Regions from separate parts of the Homo sapiens genome. Here regions 2, 3, 4 and 5 are each linked to region 1. Evidence: promoter capture Hi-C in 16 types of primary human blood cells and fetal thymus (Javierre and others, 2016). All regions are on one chromosome and are shown on one strand. The core of a region is centred on a gene start or on the middle of the fragment in contact, and the rest is flanking DNA. Distances in the headings are between cores, read along the strand shown.

Evidence for each region. Contacts are between HindIII fragments. The CHiCAGO score rates a contact against its expected background, and 5 or more counts as called.
Region 2: a fragment that was not itself captured here is called in contact with the fragment with the promoter of FAM83A-AS1 in region 1 in 7 of 17 cell types (total CD4 T cells, non-activated CD4 T cells, naive CD8 T cells and 4 more); the score reaches 6.8 in total CD4 T cells.
Region 3: a fragment that was not itself captured here is called in contact with the fragment with the promoter of FAM83A-AS1 in region 1 in 5 of 17 cell types (fetal thymus, naive B cells, total B cells and 2 more); the score reaches 7.3 in fetal thymus.
Region 4: a contact is called between a fragment that was not itself captured here and the fragment with the promoter of FAM83A-AS1 in region 1, in 1 of 17 cell types (total CD4 T cells). The highest score is 6.2, in total CD4 T cells.
Region 5: a contact is called between a fragment that was not itself captured here and the fragment with the promoter of FAM83A-AS1 in region 1, in 12 of 17 cell types (naive CD4 T cells, total CD4 T cells, total CD8 T cells and 9 more). The highest score is 12.9, in naive CD4 T cells.

What each region holds. Positions count from the first base shown.
Region 1 is chr8:123,201,340-123,204,196 of GRCh38, reverse strand. It overlaps FAM83A-AS1 (FAM83A antisense RNA 1), which reads left to right and starts at 1,454. Exons shown (of 3, transcript NR_024479.1): 1 at 1,454-1,989; 2 at 2,215-2,553; 3 at 2,743-2,857. The region is part of intron 3 of FAM83A (family with sequence similarity 83 member A); the gene reads right to left. The HindIII fragment of the contact is 13,090 bases long and covers 1-2,857 here.
Region 2 is chr8:123,759,251-123,762,107 of GRCh38, reverse strand. The region is part of intron 1 of LOC105375739 (a long non-coding RNA gene); the gene reads right to left. Among named protein-coding and RNA genes, the nearest start is that of FAM91A1, 7.8 kb to the left of the region's middle. The HindIII fragment of the contact is 973 bases long and covers 994-1,966 here.
Region 3 is chr8:122,656,622-122,659,478 of GRCh38, reverse strand. No RefSeq gene overlaps it. Among named protein-coding and RNA genes, the nearest start is that of LINC01151, 36 kb to the left of the region's middle. The HindIII fragment of the contact is 270 bases long and covers 1,365-1,634 here.
Region 4 is chr8:123,723,688-123,726,544 of GRCh38, reverse strand. All of the region lies in intron 1 of ANXA13 (annexin A13), which reads left to right. All of the region lies in intron 1 of LOC105375739 (a long non-coding RNA gene), which reads right to left. Among named protein-coding and RNA genes, the nearest start is that of ANXA13, 12 kb to the left of the region's middle. The HindIII fragment of the contact is 2,177 bases long and covers 284-2,460 here.
Region 5 is chr8:122,680,359-122,683,215 of GRCh38, reverse strand. All of the region lies in intron 2 of LINC01151 (long intergenic non-protein coding RNA 1151), which reads left to right. Among named protein-coding and RNA genes, the nearest start is that of LINC01151, 12 kb to the left of the region's middle. The HindIII fragment of the contact is 4,320 bases long and covers 1-2,857 here.

The DNA of each region.
Region 1 (2,857 bases), core at 205-2,704:
AAGTGATCCTCCCTGCTTGGCCTCCCGAAGTGCTGAGATTACAGGCATGAGCCACCACACCTGGCCAAGGTAGCATCTTGAGGATAGTCCACATCTAGCCATAGGGTCCCTTCTTGCATCCCTTTCCCAGGACCCCTGAACTAGAACTCAGCACATCATGAATCCTGTGATCATAACGCCCTTGCTTTCCTTTTTCCATAATTATAGAATTTTTTTTTGTCCTTTTTTTTTTTTTTTTTGAGTTGGAGTTTCACTCTTGTTGCCCAGGCTGGAGTGCAGTGGCGTGATCTCGGCTCACTGCAACCTCTGCCTCCTGGGTTCAAGCGCTTCTTCTGCCTCAGCCTCCTAAGTAACTGGGGTTACAACAATGCTGGCTAATTTTTTGTTTTGTTTTTTTAACCATATGTTGCCTCTTTGGTGAAACGCCTGCTTATGTCTCCCACCCACTTTTCTGCTGTGCTCTTGTGCTCTTGTGAGTCTCAGCACTAATCTCTGTCAGGGGTGTGCATCTTGAATAGCTGCTTCCAGTTTGTAACTGACTTTTCACTTCCTTTAAGATGTCTTTCTTTTTTTCTTTTCTTTTCTTACTTTTTTTTTTTTTTTTTTTTTTGAGACAGATCTCATTCTGTCCCCCAGGCTGGAGTGCAGTGGCTTGATCTCAGCTCACTGCAACCTCTGCCTCCTGGATTCAAGTGATCCTCCCACCTCAGCCTCCCGAGTAGTTGGGACTACAGGCACGTGCCACCACACTCGGCTAATTTTTGTATTTTTAGTAGAGACAGGATTTTACCATGTTGGCCAGGCTGGTCTTGAACTCTTGACCTCAGGTGATCCACCTTCCTCTGCCTCCCAAGGTGCTGGGATTACAGATGTGAACCACCGCACCCAGCCAAGATGTCTTTCAATGAACCAACATTCTTAATTGTAATATAGTCAGATTAAGCAAACTTTTATGGTCACTGCTTTTTTTTTTTTAATGTGTGTATGTTTTCCTTTTAAAGAAATCTACTGAGAGTTTTAGTTTATTTTCAACATTCAAATTCTTTTCAACTATTGCAAGTCGATTTGTAAACAAATGCGTGCATGGTGGGTAGTAATCCCATTTTACATACGGGGAGTTATTTTTTCCAGTTCCTCCTTTCCCCACTGCTCTGTCATGCCCTGTGGTGTGTGAATATGTGCCTGAGCTTTCTGTTCTGTGTGTCAATTTGTCCCTCCTCCAATGACACATTGTCTTGATTACTGCAGTTTCATGACAAGTTCTGAACTCTGGTAGGGCAAGTCGTCCCTGCTTGTTTTTCTTTTTCGGATTTATCTTGGCTATTCTTGGAAAAGCACATTTAACATCATGACCCACAAGTACATAACCACACAATAATTTCCAGAACATCCTTTACCTCAGCGTGGTCTGATTATTTTTATTCTATTCCGTGTCATTTAAAAAAAATGCTAGACATCATCTACTAAATTGATTTCACACCCCGCTAATGGATGGTGAGGCACAGTTTGAAAAACTGCATTCTTTCAGGACACTGAATGGTCAGAACCCAATGTGCTTTTATTCATTCATTCAACAAATATTTGTGGCCATGTATAATGTATCAGGTGCTGTATTTACTGTACTTCATGCCAGGAAAGCAACAGAGAAGAAAACATACCCAGTCCAGTCCCTGACCTCATGTCATTTACAATCTCGGCTAATCAAGTTCACAAATAAATAATTCCAAATCATGATGGGAGTGAAGCCATAGAGGATAAGAGGGCTCGGGGTGGTGATCAGAGGTCTCTGAGGCAATGATCTGGAAGCTGCCACCTACAAGATAAAGAGTAAGCAAGATAGAGACAGCAGGAATGAGCTCTCCGACGGAGGGCATGAACAGCAAGTGCAAAGGCCCTGCGACTCGAAAGAGCATGAAAGACTGAGGAAGCGGCCAGTGTGGCTCCAACACAGTGGAGGAGTGGGGGGATCCTACTGAGATAGAGGCCCTGGTAAGGATGTAGATTTTTGTTGTTGTTGTTGTTCCTAGGAGCAGTGGCGAGTACTGAAGGATTTTAAAGTGGTTTGATCTGGTTTGTGTTTCTGTTCCTGGGAGAGAAAACCCATGGATGGCAGTGGGGGCGGGGCAGGAGGCCAATTAGAAGCCAGGATGATGTCTTGCTGTTGTTCCCCATCCTGTTCCCAATGCCCAATTTTGCCTGCCTCTTCCCCACCAGGGCTGAATAATTCTCATCCTTCAAGGCCCAACTCCAGCCAATGGCACCGACCTCCTGGACCTGCTAGGCAGAAGTGGTGGCTCCCTCTCAGCTGACCCCAGAGCACTTCCTTAGCTCCTGCTGATCTCAGAGCACACACACCAATCCACTCTGGCCACTCAGCAATTTTTCTTGATGGCCCTGGCATGGCACCTATGCTGGGGTCAGACCCTCAACCAGCCCTTCAGTGTTGAAATGCACAACCTCAGCCCTCTAGCCTCAGCGGAGGAAGCAGGGCTCTTCAGTTTGGGAGAACCATATACAACCAGAAGAAGGGGCCAAAATATCTGAAGCCCCCAGGTAGCGGGGCTAAAAGAAAGGGATAAATGGCCTCTTCTGGTTTTTTTTCTTTGTTTGTTTTTGTTTTTACTGGAAACAACTCTAAGGGGAGACTGGTCCCAGTGAAGATGATCCCCTGAAAGGCTAGTAAGCAGGTCACCTTTGAATGTCAAGGGCAAAATCACTGTTGGTGTCCTGTTCTCCCTCCAGGAGCTGGCTCCTCCACAGCTCTCAGGAATGACAGTAAACACAGACGGCCCTGCATGTATTCCGGCTGTGGCAGCCTTCCTCCTGGGCTGCACATCAGGCTAACAAGCCCAGCCCT
Region 2 (2,857 bases), core at 231-2,730, 560 kb before region 1:
TTCATGTAGACCAAGGAAATAATTTCTCTACCCCTTGATAACAATCAGGAAAACTGGGAGATAAATAAAGAATTACACACTATTGGACCAATATGGAAATTATCTGAGTATGTGTTACACAGATGGCACCGGGCCAACTTGGATCTTTTTAGCTTATTTGGGTATATTGTTACAATGCCTTGGAACTTGGCTAAAATGAAATTGTTTTTGTTTCCTTCTACATTACACCATTCAAACTTTACACCTTTAGCAACACGTAATCTCTTAACTGTCTAACAAGAAATACAAATTTGTCTACTAGTGTAAACTGTGATTAGGGATTAAGTTCAAGTATAGTAGGATTGTTTCGTGACCTCTATAAACAAGATGTGAGTGAGAGATAGGACACTTTCTTGGCTACAACTACAACTAATCCTGGAAAAACATAAATTGGCTATTTCTTGGCCAGGTCTACGTAAGCATTTCTTCTCTCTGAAGAACAGAAATGTTGACTTCTCTTTCTTTTAGATTTAATAAAGTCATTAATTACCACATGTTTTTAGAAATGATATAGCCTTAATGGATAATATTTTATTTCTCTTTTCTTTTTTTTAGGGATATAGAAAGCTAGCTGAACTGTGTACCTGGTAAAAGTAGGCCCAGGAAAACAAAAGTCAGAAAAAGATTAATCAAGAAGCCAGAGACATCTATTTGCCTTTGAGAAAATAAGGATTATTACAAAGAAAGCCCAAGACAAAGTCAAAGTTCAGCTTTTGAAATAGAAACTAGGATTTTTGAGTCTGAGCAAGACAGTAGGCTTAAAAGCCAGGCTTTGTTGAGAAAGGGTTTTCTGAATTCTTTTAGCTCCCATTGGCATATCTTGGGGGGAAACAGGGGAGGAAGTTGAAATCTTCAAGAGAGAGCATCTCCAGTAGAAACCATACTCCCAGTGAGATGACTATATTTAAACAGAAAGAGGCCAAATAAGAGCCTTTCAATTGATAGATTTAAGCTTCCCCGACTGCCACCACTAGCCAGTGGAATGACAGTGTAAGAATGATTAGGTCCACTTCAGGAAATAAAGCAGCCACATTTTCTTTGTGTATATGATTAGTCACATATGAACATTTTCAACCCAAAACAACTACCAGCTTTAGTCTGAAGCAAGACCTATTTTCCGCACATGGGAGATAAGGAGCAAGACTGAACTGGAGTGATAATCCCTCGCTGTCTGCCTGCTAAGATAGCATCAGTATCCACACATTAGCATCCCTGGCTGTCACACAGCAGAGCCTGTCATGAGGTGAAGGAAAGCAGGCTTTCACGGATCACTCAGAAAGAGAAATAACCAAGAGGACCAAAACTATGACTTACTGAAGAGCCTATCTCTGATGGGAACTGTGAATCTTTTAAAGAATCAAAGTTTTGGTGGGATTATTTTAGGCAGATAATTCTGACCCAGGCTACAAAGAGTATAGGGCTAAAGATTGCTTCATGGACTCCACCACTGAAGTGAATACCAAAGATTGTGATTAATTCTCAAGTGTGAAAGAGACAGAAAGCAGTTAAATATTTAGGGCTAAAGAAAAATCCCAGGGGAAAATCTCTTACTCTGTAAATAAGGGAAGAGGATGGAGAGGTTGACACTGAGATCCCCCCATAACCCTGATTCTCAGAGTCCAACAACAAAATAGTGTTTGTAACTGATTATGCCTTGCTGCCAAATATTGATTTTGTGATTCTAGAAATCTGAAATTAATCTGAGAAGGATTAATTTAACAAAAGGATACCTTATTTCAGGACTGAACTATTTCTATGTGCAAGGTGCTACATTAAGCATTTGGGGACACAGAGATGAACAAGGCATGATCTTTACCCTTAAATAATTTACAGTCTAGTAGGCTTGAGAATCCAGGTCTATAACCCAGTGGAATATAAAGTAGAAAGTAATGATTGGTACAAGATGCTAGTAGAAGGAAAGGAAGCTTCTCATTAAGGCCTCTAGAAGCAATTATGAAAGAGGTGGCTTTTATGCTGGGTTTTAACACGGGATAGATCTGAAGGGACTGGAGGAAAAGGTGTTTTGGCTTCCAGAGACTATATGGGCAATGTAAGGGAAGAAAAAGGTACACTAAAATAAAAAGAATAAAGCGACATTCTTGCTAGACTCGTGTCAATGACCAGAAAGCCCCACCTACGTGATAATTTATCCTTTTATTTTTTAGCTCTTCAGTGTTTTATGATATATTATTATATCATGATCATTGTTTTAATTCTTGTCTTTAAAATCCTGATGAACATATTTAAATATGGAGAGTGTGCTAAGTTTATAATCTGTCCTATGTTTACATAGAACGAAAAAAAATTCCAAATGTGACAAAACACCAAGTCAGGGAAAGAAATGTGGGCTGGCTTAAATATTTAAAGAGATTGAGGACCTTTAGAGTTTCTTGCTCCGTGTGTGGCCACTGGATTCAAGGGAAATCAGAAGCTTATTGTTCCATTGATAAGTAAGCCATAAAGTTAAAGATTCACCACACATTGCATGGAAAACCAATAGCTGGTACAAGCTGGTACCATATATTTATTGCTGATATGAGAAGCTAAGCACACCTGCTATTAACAGATAATGACATGGTACTGTGAGAGAATACACAAGGTAACATACCAGAGCAAATTGGTCACACCATTGCATCATGCTGATGATTGTTAATGGACTCTTCACTAAGACACTTCAGACTCCCTAAACCAGTAGTTCTCAACTGGGGGCAGTTTTGTCCCCAGGGGACATTTGGCTATGTCCAGAGACATTTTTGGTTGTTACAACTGGAGAAGGTGCTACTAGCATCTAATGGATAGGGGCCAGGGATGCTGTGCT
Region 3 (2,857 bases), core at 250-2,749, 540 kb after region 1:
GAAGCAAACTAGCAGAGTCATGTGGCGTTTCTGTCCTGGGACTTACGCAAATTATGCAATTGTCCTTTGCATTCAAATCTGTTCCTCTTCCACCTGATATTTTGCTGAGGGGACAAGTGAAATTCCAAAGCTCAGTTTGCTGAAGTGTGCAAAATGCTAATCAGCTTCCACAGCCCACAAAGTGGCAGAGAGGGCGTGCCTCTCTGGAGAAGAGAGGAGAGACTGGACTAGGAGCTGGGAGGAGTCTGGCTGACTCAGCGGCCCCAGACAAACGCACTTCCATCCTTTCCCATTTCCGTTGTGAACTCTTCTCCGTGGGCAAGAAGAGGACTCAGAACAACTGCTATCTTTTTACAAAGAAGGATGATGTGCAAGGGGGTCATTTACAAGAGGATCAAGGGTTTGGCTATGTTGGGAGATGCTGATTTTGATAAATGTTTCCATATCTCTACAAATGTGCCTTTCTGAGTCTCCAGTTAGACTTGAAAAAGACTTTGGAGATTGTCCCCTGCACAGTGGCTCTGAGCCTGGACACCTAGGAGATGCTCAGTAAATATCTGTTAAATAAATGAAGGAATGGATATAGTCCAAACTACTTGGTCATGCATCCAGTTTGTGGCAGATTTGGGTCTCTAAGGCCCAGTACACTAATCACTCAGCTGGGAGTTTTTATTCTGTTCCATCTTGCTGCTAGGACAACTGTAGCCACCCAGAAGGATGTCTCAACGCTCTGGAAAGTTCTCTGGCTGAATGTTGCTATGATACAATCTTTTAACAAGCTGATTGCTCAGTAGCAAGAGCAAGTGCTATTTATGTTGGGTAAATAAGAAGAAATGCTGCCCTACTGATATTTGTTAAGTGCCCCTTTAATATTTGTGAGGAGGCGATCTTGACAAAATTTTGAGAGTGTATACACTGGCAAATTTTACCTTTTATGGACTGTAATATCCTATTGCTACTTGATTTAAAAATCTTTCCCTCTCTTCACATATATCCATATGAAAAAAAACAGCAGAGAGAGATATATGTATATTATATGGGAGATATCTATCTATCATCTATCTATCTCCCACTTATGACCTGAAAGCCCCGTCTTTGAGATGTTCTGCCTTTCCAGCCTAAATCAATGTATACCTTACATGTATTGATTTATGTCTTTGCCTGTAACTTCTGTTTTCCTAAAATGTATAAAACTAAACTGTAATTCAGTCACCTTGGGTACACTTTCTCAAGCTTTCTTGAGACTGTTTCCCAGGCCATGGTCAGAATAAACCTCCTTCAATATTTTACAGAGGTTTTTTTTTTTTTTTTTTTTTTTTTTTTTGGTTATCAGCATTCATCCACCAAGGAGGTCACCAGAAGCTTTGGTGGACAGTTTTCATCCAGGCCAAGGGAATTCTAACTCAGGCATCTTTGTCTCGCTGCCTGAGAGTGTTCTCTGGTGGAAACATCATGCTCAGCCCATGTATTGGGATTGGGGAAGAGATCTGAAGTGCCAGGGAGTTAACTCCTGGGAGAAATCTTCAAACAAAGAAAGCAGGCAATTGGTGGATAAATACCCCAGTTTCTTTACCCCTGATGAAAACTTTCTGAGGTGTATTCTATAGAGGCTTTTGGGGGATACCCAGGAAGCTTGAGCCCCAGTTGCCCACAGCTATAGTCCATTTATTAATGCACCTTTGTGTAGCTGAGGACTGGGCCACCTGCTTGTGTGGCTTATTTATGCCCTCTGACCCTGTCAGTGCCTGATTATGGATGTGCTGCCTCCATGTGGCAGTGGATTGCTGCAGGGTTGCCTTGGCTTATGACTTCTTGGGTGTGGTAGAACCCAGCTCATGATGGGAATCCAGCTCATAATGGGAATCCAGCTCACGATGGGAACCCAGCTCATAATGGCTGCATGATCATTTGATGTCCATGGTTATAGGCTCCATCTTTACTAGCATGTGAGGGACTTTTTTTGCATGGTGTGTTGTTCTTTGCTGTGAATAGCCTGGAATTGCCATAGAATAGGGGTTGCCAACCCCTGGGCCTTGGACCCGTACCAGTCTATGGCCTGTTAGGAACTGGGTTGCCCAGCAGGAGGTGAGTGGCGGGCGAGTGAGCATTACCACCTGAGCTCTGCCTCCTGTCAGATCAGTGGCAGCATTAGGCTCTCATAGGAGCATGAACCCTATTGTGAACTGCACATGTGAGGATCTAAGTGGCACACTCCTTATGAGAATCTAATGCCTGATGATCTGAGGTGGAACAGTCTCATCTCGAAACCATACCCACTCCTCCCCCATTCCCTGTCCCTGTTCATGGAAAAATTGTATTCCACAAAACTGGTCCCTGGTGCTAAAAAGGTTGGGGACCACTGCCATAGAACACTAGAGTTTTCATGCAGTAATTTTTCTTATTTGATCTTCTCATAAACGCTACACACATTTTTTTTTCTCACTCCAAATACCTCTAGAACTTTGTGTATCAGGCCCTTGGCTGACATTTTTTTTTTTTTGAGATGGAGTCTTGCTCTGTAGCCAGGCTGGAGTGCAGCAGCATGATCTCAGCTCACTGCAATCTCCACCTCCGGGGTTCAAGAGATTCTCCTGCCTCAGCCTCCTGAGTAGCTGGGACTATGGGTGCATGCCACCACGCCCAGGTAATTTTTGTATTTTTAGTAGAGATGGGGTTTCACCATGTTGGCCAGGATGGTCTCAATCTCTTGACTTCGTGATCTGCCTGCCTCTGCCTCCCAAAGTGCTGGGATTACAGGTGTCAGCCACCATGCCTGGCCCATGGCTGACATTTTAACCTTGTCACTCATTACAGTAATTGTGACAACTTTGCTTTTGATACTTCAACATTGCTACGT
Region 4 (2,857 bases), core at 123-2,622, 520 kb before region 1:
TGATTGGCTCACCTCTCCTCTGTTTGGGTGTAGCCCCCAAAAGGGCTACCCCACTTGGACTCCCTATACCACAGCTCAGTGCATGGCAGGATGCCCACATTGTTTACACTCCTGAGGATACCATCAGTACCTTCAGGTACAATGGTGCCCACCAGTTTAAGGCACAGCATATTGAAGGGCCTTCAAGTCAGGTCTCCTAACTCCTACCCAGCCCTGCAGTCACCTTTGATAAGTAAATATCACATCAACACGTGTAACCCAGATGGCATAGCCTAAGGAAGCTTGTCTTTCTGGAAAATGACCTAACTATACCAATCTTCATTAAAAGGTGCTGAAATGCCAACATGGAAGCAATCCCAAATGTAATAGAAAGGTCATGTTTTAATCTAAAGAACTGAACTCATTTTTCAGAACATACAGTCAACATATGCAAGCAAATCATGTTGAGCTGTGATCCAAATGGATGTTTTTCTAGTTTTAGTTTTAGTTGTTAAATGATACAAATATTTCTGCCCCTTTAGAGTGATAGCCAAACACTTAGTCATCATGTAAGTCACTGTAATACTGCATCTTGGAAAGGAGGTATCAACAGCAATGAACAACTCTGTAACATTCCAGCACCCTACTAAGGTGGGCAGAGCTCAAGTTTCCTAACACACTTTCCCAACAGCTCTCTGATCAACCCCCGCAGATTAATAAACTTCTAATGTGGGAAGAGGTTCTAGGCATGAAGGAATTGGCTTGCTTTTAGTCGGTGTGAGATCCTGGAGAATCCTAATGAAAACAGCAATAACTACATGATGAAATACCAAATATTCGTATTCAAACTGTGCTTAAATATACCCAACAGGGTATACTGCCAAATATATTTTTTTCTGTTGGGTAGTTTTATGACTTAATGAAACCAATATGTCACTAATCACCCAAGATTCATGCTTCAGATGTGAATGGCCCCTCTATTTTGTTTCAAATTGCTCATCAATCTCTACTAACCATGTCTGTGGAAATGTCACCAGGATATTTTCTGGCTCTGAATTCATGAATGTTAAAAGTACAATAATTTGCATTCATACTAACTGGCTTCAAAGTGCAAATGAGTAACCGGTTAGAGGTAAAAGAACATTGTTCTGAGAGAGATAGGAGATGGATGTTTCCATAAGGTGACCCTGAGCAGGTGACTTAACAACCAGGCTTCAGTTTCTTTATTTGTAAATGATGGGATTGGATACATTCAATGTCTCCCAAACTTCAGATTTAAGTACAACCTTCATGATTGTTGCCAAATATATGGGTTACCTCTTCTACTAATTATTCTATTAATTATTTTTAAATACGCACTTTTTAATATAAATTAATCTTAAAAGGAAATTTTATACTGATACCATAAATGGAAAATTAATGTCAGTTGACATAAATATAGATAACTAAATGAAAGCAAAAAGAATGTATTAAATTCTAACTAAATTTGATGTTGCCAGCTGAAGGGTAAGGTCCTATCCTCTGACTAAAAAAGGACCTGTTTACATGGTCCACATGGGATACAGTGGGAGTCCACAAAGTAAATAATGAGGCTTTGTGGGCCACAGAACCTCTGGTGCAAGTAGGTAACTACTCTGCCATTGTAGCGTGAAAGAAGCCATAGGCCAAATGTAAATGAATGGGTTGGCTGTGTTCCAATAAAACTTTATTTACAAAAATAAGTAATGGGCCAGATATGGTCCTCAGTCTGCAGTTTGCCAACCCCTGGATTAGACGAGTGTGAAAGATCCACTATCACTAAGCAAAGACTTAATCAGAAGAGTTGGGAGAGAATTTTAAAAGGAGTTCCTTTCCTAGCTGGAGGTCCAATGGCTTTAATGCTTTCAGTGTTCCATGTCACCCATTTGGAAAAACCTGGGTTCAATTTTCACTTTAAGATTTCATGCTAAACCTCTTCCCTTTATCTTTAGCATCTTGGATAAGGTCAAGGATTTCTTTCTTGTGTAAACCTTCAGCACATTTCTAAGTTGTCTTCCTCCTTTACCGGGATATCAACAGCGGAAGTTTCTAATTTTTCTCAGACTAACGGTTCTCAACCCTGGCTGCTTGTTAGAATTGTCTGGGGAGTTTTAGAAATATTTATACCTGATATATCCCTGTACCTCAGAGATTCTGATTTCATAGGATCAGACTGGGATCCCAAATGATTTTGAGTGCAATCCGGGTTGAAAGGCTACTAATCTATATCTTGGCAAGGTCACTTTCCTCAGAGTCCATTATTTTCTCCATTTGGTATTAAATTCTAAGAGCCCCAAACTCTATTTAGCTCAAACTGTTTCACACCCGAAGGTCTTAGGACTTCACTTTCATTTGTGATTCCTGTTATTTCTCCAACTGAGGTCTGATTGAGCCCTCCCAGACACCTTGGTTAAATTTACTGTTCCTCTTTTCATTCTCTCTGCTTCATCATTTTGGAAAGCTTGACACTATTCTCAGCTCAAGATTTCTATCCAGATAAGTTTCCTGTTCCATTCTTCTGTCCCTACTACTGCCACTGACTCTGACATTAATACAAACTGGGAGCAAGACCAGGACGCAAAGAAAAGGCATTCAGTGTATTCTGTAACATACAAAGGAAGAAGATTCTTCCTCCCATGGAAAAGAAGATAACATTTACCAAGTACCTACAATGTGTCAAGCATTGTGCTAGGTGCTGGGGATATGAGAGTGAACATGACATAACCTAGCCTCCAAAAGTCTTACAGTCTAGGGAAGGAAATAGACTAATAAAAAAGTATGATAATGTATCTGTTAAAAGATCTGATAGAAGACTCTAGAGTGGAGGGTAGAACAAAAGAGTCAGTGGTGTGCTAGAATA
Region 5 (2,857 bases), core at 175-2,674, 520 kb after region 1:
TGATCCAGGGAACATGCTGCAAGCCTTCCAGGAGGTCTCATGGAAGCCCCTTCACCTAGGCTTGAGGTGGTTAGAAACAGCCTCTCCCCAGAAGGGTGGGGAGTGTAAGGATTGGCAGCTATCTCCCCAAATTCTTGTCTAATCCCAGCCCAGCTCCAAATTCTTTTTTTTTTTTTTTTTTTTTTCAGAAGGAGTGTCGCTCTGTCACCGGGTCTGGAGTGCAGTGGTGCGATCTCGGCTCCCTGCAAGCTCCGCCTCCCGGGTTCACGCCATTCTCCTGCCTCAGCCTCCCGAGTAGCTGGGACGACAGACACCCGCCACCACGCCCGGCTAATTTTTTTGTAATTTTTTTTTTAGTAGAGACAGGGTTTCACTGTGTTAGCCAGGATGGTCTCGATCTCCTGACCTTGTGATCCACCCGCCTGGGCCTCCCAAAGTGCTGGGATTACAGGTGTGAGCCACCGCGCCCGGCCTCCAAATTCTTTAAAGTTCGGGTGGTGGATAGATTGGGGCCCTAAAACCCGTTTCTGACTACCTCCTGTGTAAGTCTTTGTGGTCTTTCACTTTTCCTTAGAAATGGGGTGCAGTCACTCTTGGTGTCTTGGAGCCTCGGCTGATACTAAAACAGAACCTGTTTTAACACACTGTTTTGCACAAACACAGAATAAAGAGGCAGACGGTATGCCTGTCAGTCTTGCAGAGGCCTCCGGGAAAGAGAAGATGGGGAACTGGATAGCATGATTTCCAGGGTTCCTTCCAACCCAGAGATTGCACGGCAGGCTGGCAGGGAATAAGAGAAAGCATTGGACCTATTCCCTGACTGTGCTATTAGAGAGACAAGACACGCACTAAGCACCCTGGTAGCAGATCATCACAAATGCTCTTGATGGTAATATAAATGCAACAACAATAAGTATGAACAGTCAAGCCTTGAACCGTTTGGAATGAGCTTTATGTCTCAGAGAATAGGGAGGAGTCAACTCACTGTTGTAGAAAGTTGCTGAGAGGAGGTAGACGTCAACTAAACTTGGTGTTCTGAGAACACGCCTTTAAACCTCCTTGGCCTCTCCTCCTGGGCACTTCGCACTTGTTTGTTCTCCCAAATGCCTCCTTGCCAGGAAATCAGTCCCAGTCCCTGTAGTTGGAGGTAAAGTTGTCATCTACTTTTTGCCATTGCACTTTATCTACACTACTTTTGTGCATCTTGTCTTATAATTGAGTGGAAGCCTCAGAAGGACAAGGGCTTCTTTCTTTACTCACAGTGATATTTCCTTTCTGGGCCCGGCACATGGGGACACACACATACACGCACACACACACAAACACGCACATGCACACACACATGCAAACACACACACATGCATATGCACACATGCCCACACGCACACACATGCACACACACGCACACACATGCACACACATGCACATGAGCACGTTGATATTATTCTTTTGTCCACGGCACTGAGTTAGCGGTTGGCTGAGTCAGGGTTGGAGCTGGGTTTCTGGGTTTCCACTGCACAGCTCTTTCTACCTCCTACCCTGGACTCTCCACTCTCTGGCTTCCCAGGTCTCTGGGCACCAGGAGGCTGGAAAGCACTTTGCTGGATATTCCAATTCTGTTGGCATTTGTGACTGAGGACATGTGCCCAAATTCATCCTGTGTGTTTCCAACTCAGAGCCTTCTGGAACAGAGGTGCTCCCCAGAGGTGGGGAAAATGCAGCCGGAGGAGATGGGTCACAGAAAGCTACACACCCGGCGCTGGTCATGCTGAGCAGAGCAGGCCCTCACGTCCCAGTGGCTCTCCCTTCTGTGTACATTTAATGAGCTTTTGGCTGCATTTCAAGGAGACCTGGCCTTGGGCACGGGGCATGGAAATGAACTTCTGAGTGAGCTCTCTAGGAGAAAAATAAAGGCCTGGCCTTGGGCCTGATTGGAGCCCCATGACTCTGCCAATGCTACGTAGAGAAAAAGGCAGTTGTGTTGAGTTACCGCATTTTAAAATAGAGGCTGTAAACCCTCTCATTTTATGGGTGGAAACCAAGGCTCAGAGAGGGGTTCTGATGCCCAGGTTTATGCATCTGGCTTAGCAGTAGATTCAGTCACCACTAGACTCTGCAGAGCCACTACAGAGGCCAGCTGGAGAGAGGTCTGAATCCCTGCCAATCTTGTTCAGTGCCACCTCAACTTTGGAGAACTCCCGGCCTTCTCTGGTGAATTATAATAGCTGCTTCTGCACATCCTGCCTCTGCATGTATCCCTCTGTGAGCCATGTGTCCCTGGAGAGCCTGCACCATGTGTTTATCATCCCTGGATTACCAAGAGAGGGCCCATTGTGGGCCCACAGGGATCCCAGGGTGGGTGGGGCACTGACTGGCACCAGGGCTGGCTTTTCCAAGGAAGTCAGGCCCAGCTCTTCCTGCCAATGCGCCTCCTTTCTCTCTCCTTTCATCTCCCGAGCCTCAGAAAGCTGAGCAGTTTCTGTTGAGGATACCATCCTGTTCATTCTAGGAGGGCAGCCTGCCAGAAGCAGCAAAATTTCTGGCCCATTTCCCAATGCAAAGGACAACTGGGAAATGGCCTAGAACAGTGCCGTCCAATAGAAATGTAATGTAAACTATACATTAATTAAACATTTTCTAGTAGCCACATTAAACAAAGAAAAAAGACACTGGTGAAATTGAGTTTAATAATATATTCTATTTAAGCTAAGATATCTAAAACGTCATTTCTGCATGTAATCAATATAAATAATTATGAATGAGATACTTTGCATTTTTTGATATTGAGTGTTCAAAATCTGGTATGTATTTTATACTTATGGCACATCTCAATCTGAACTCTAAATTTTCATAGAAA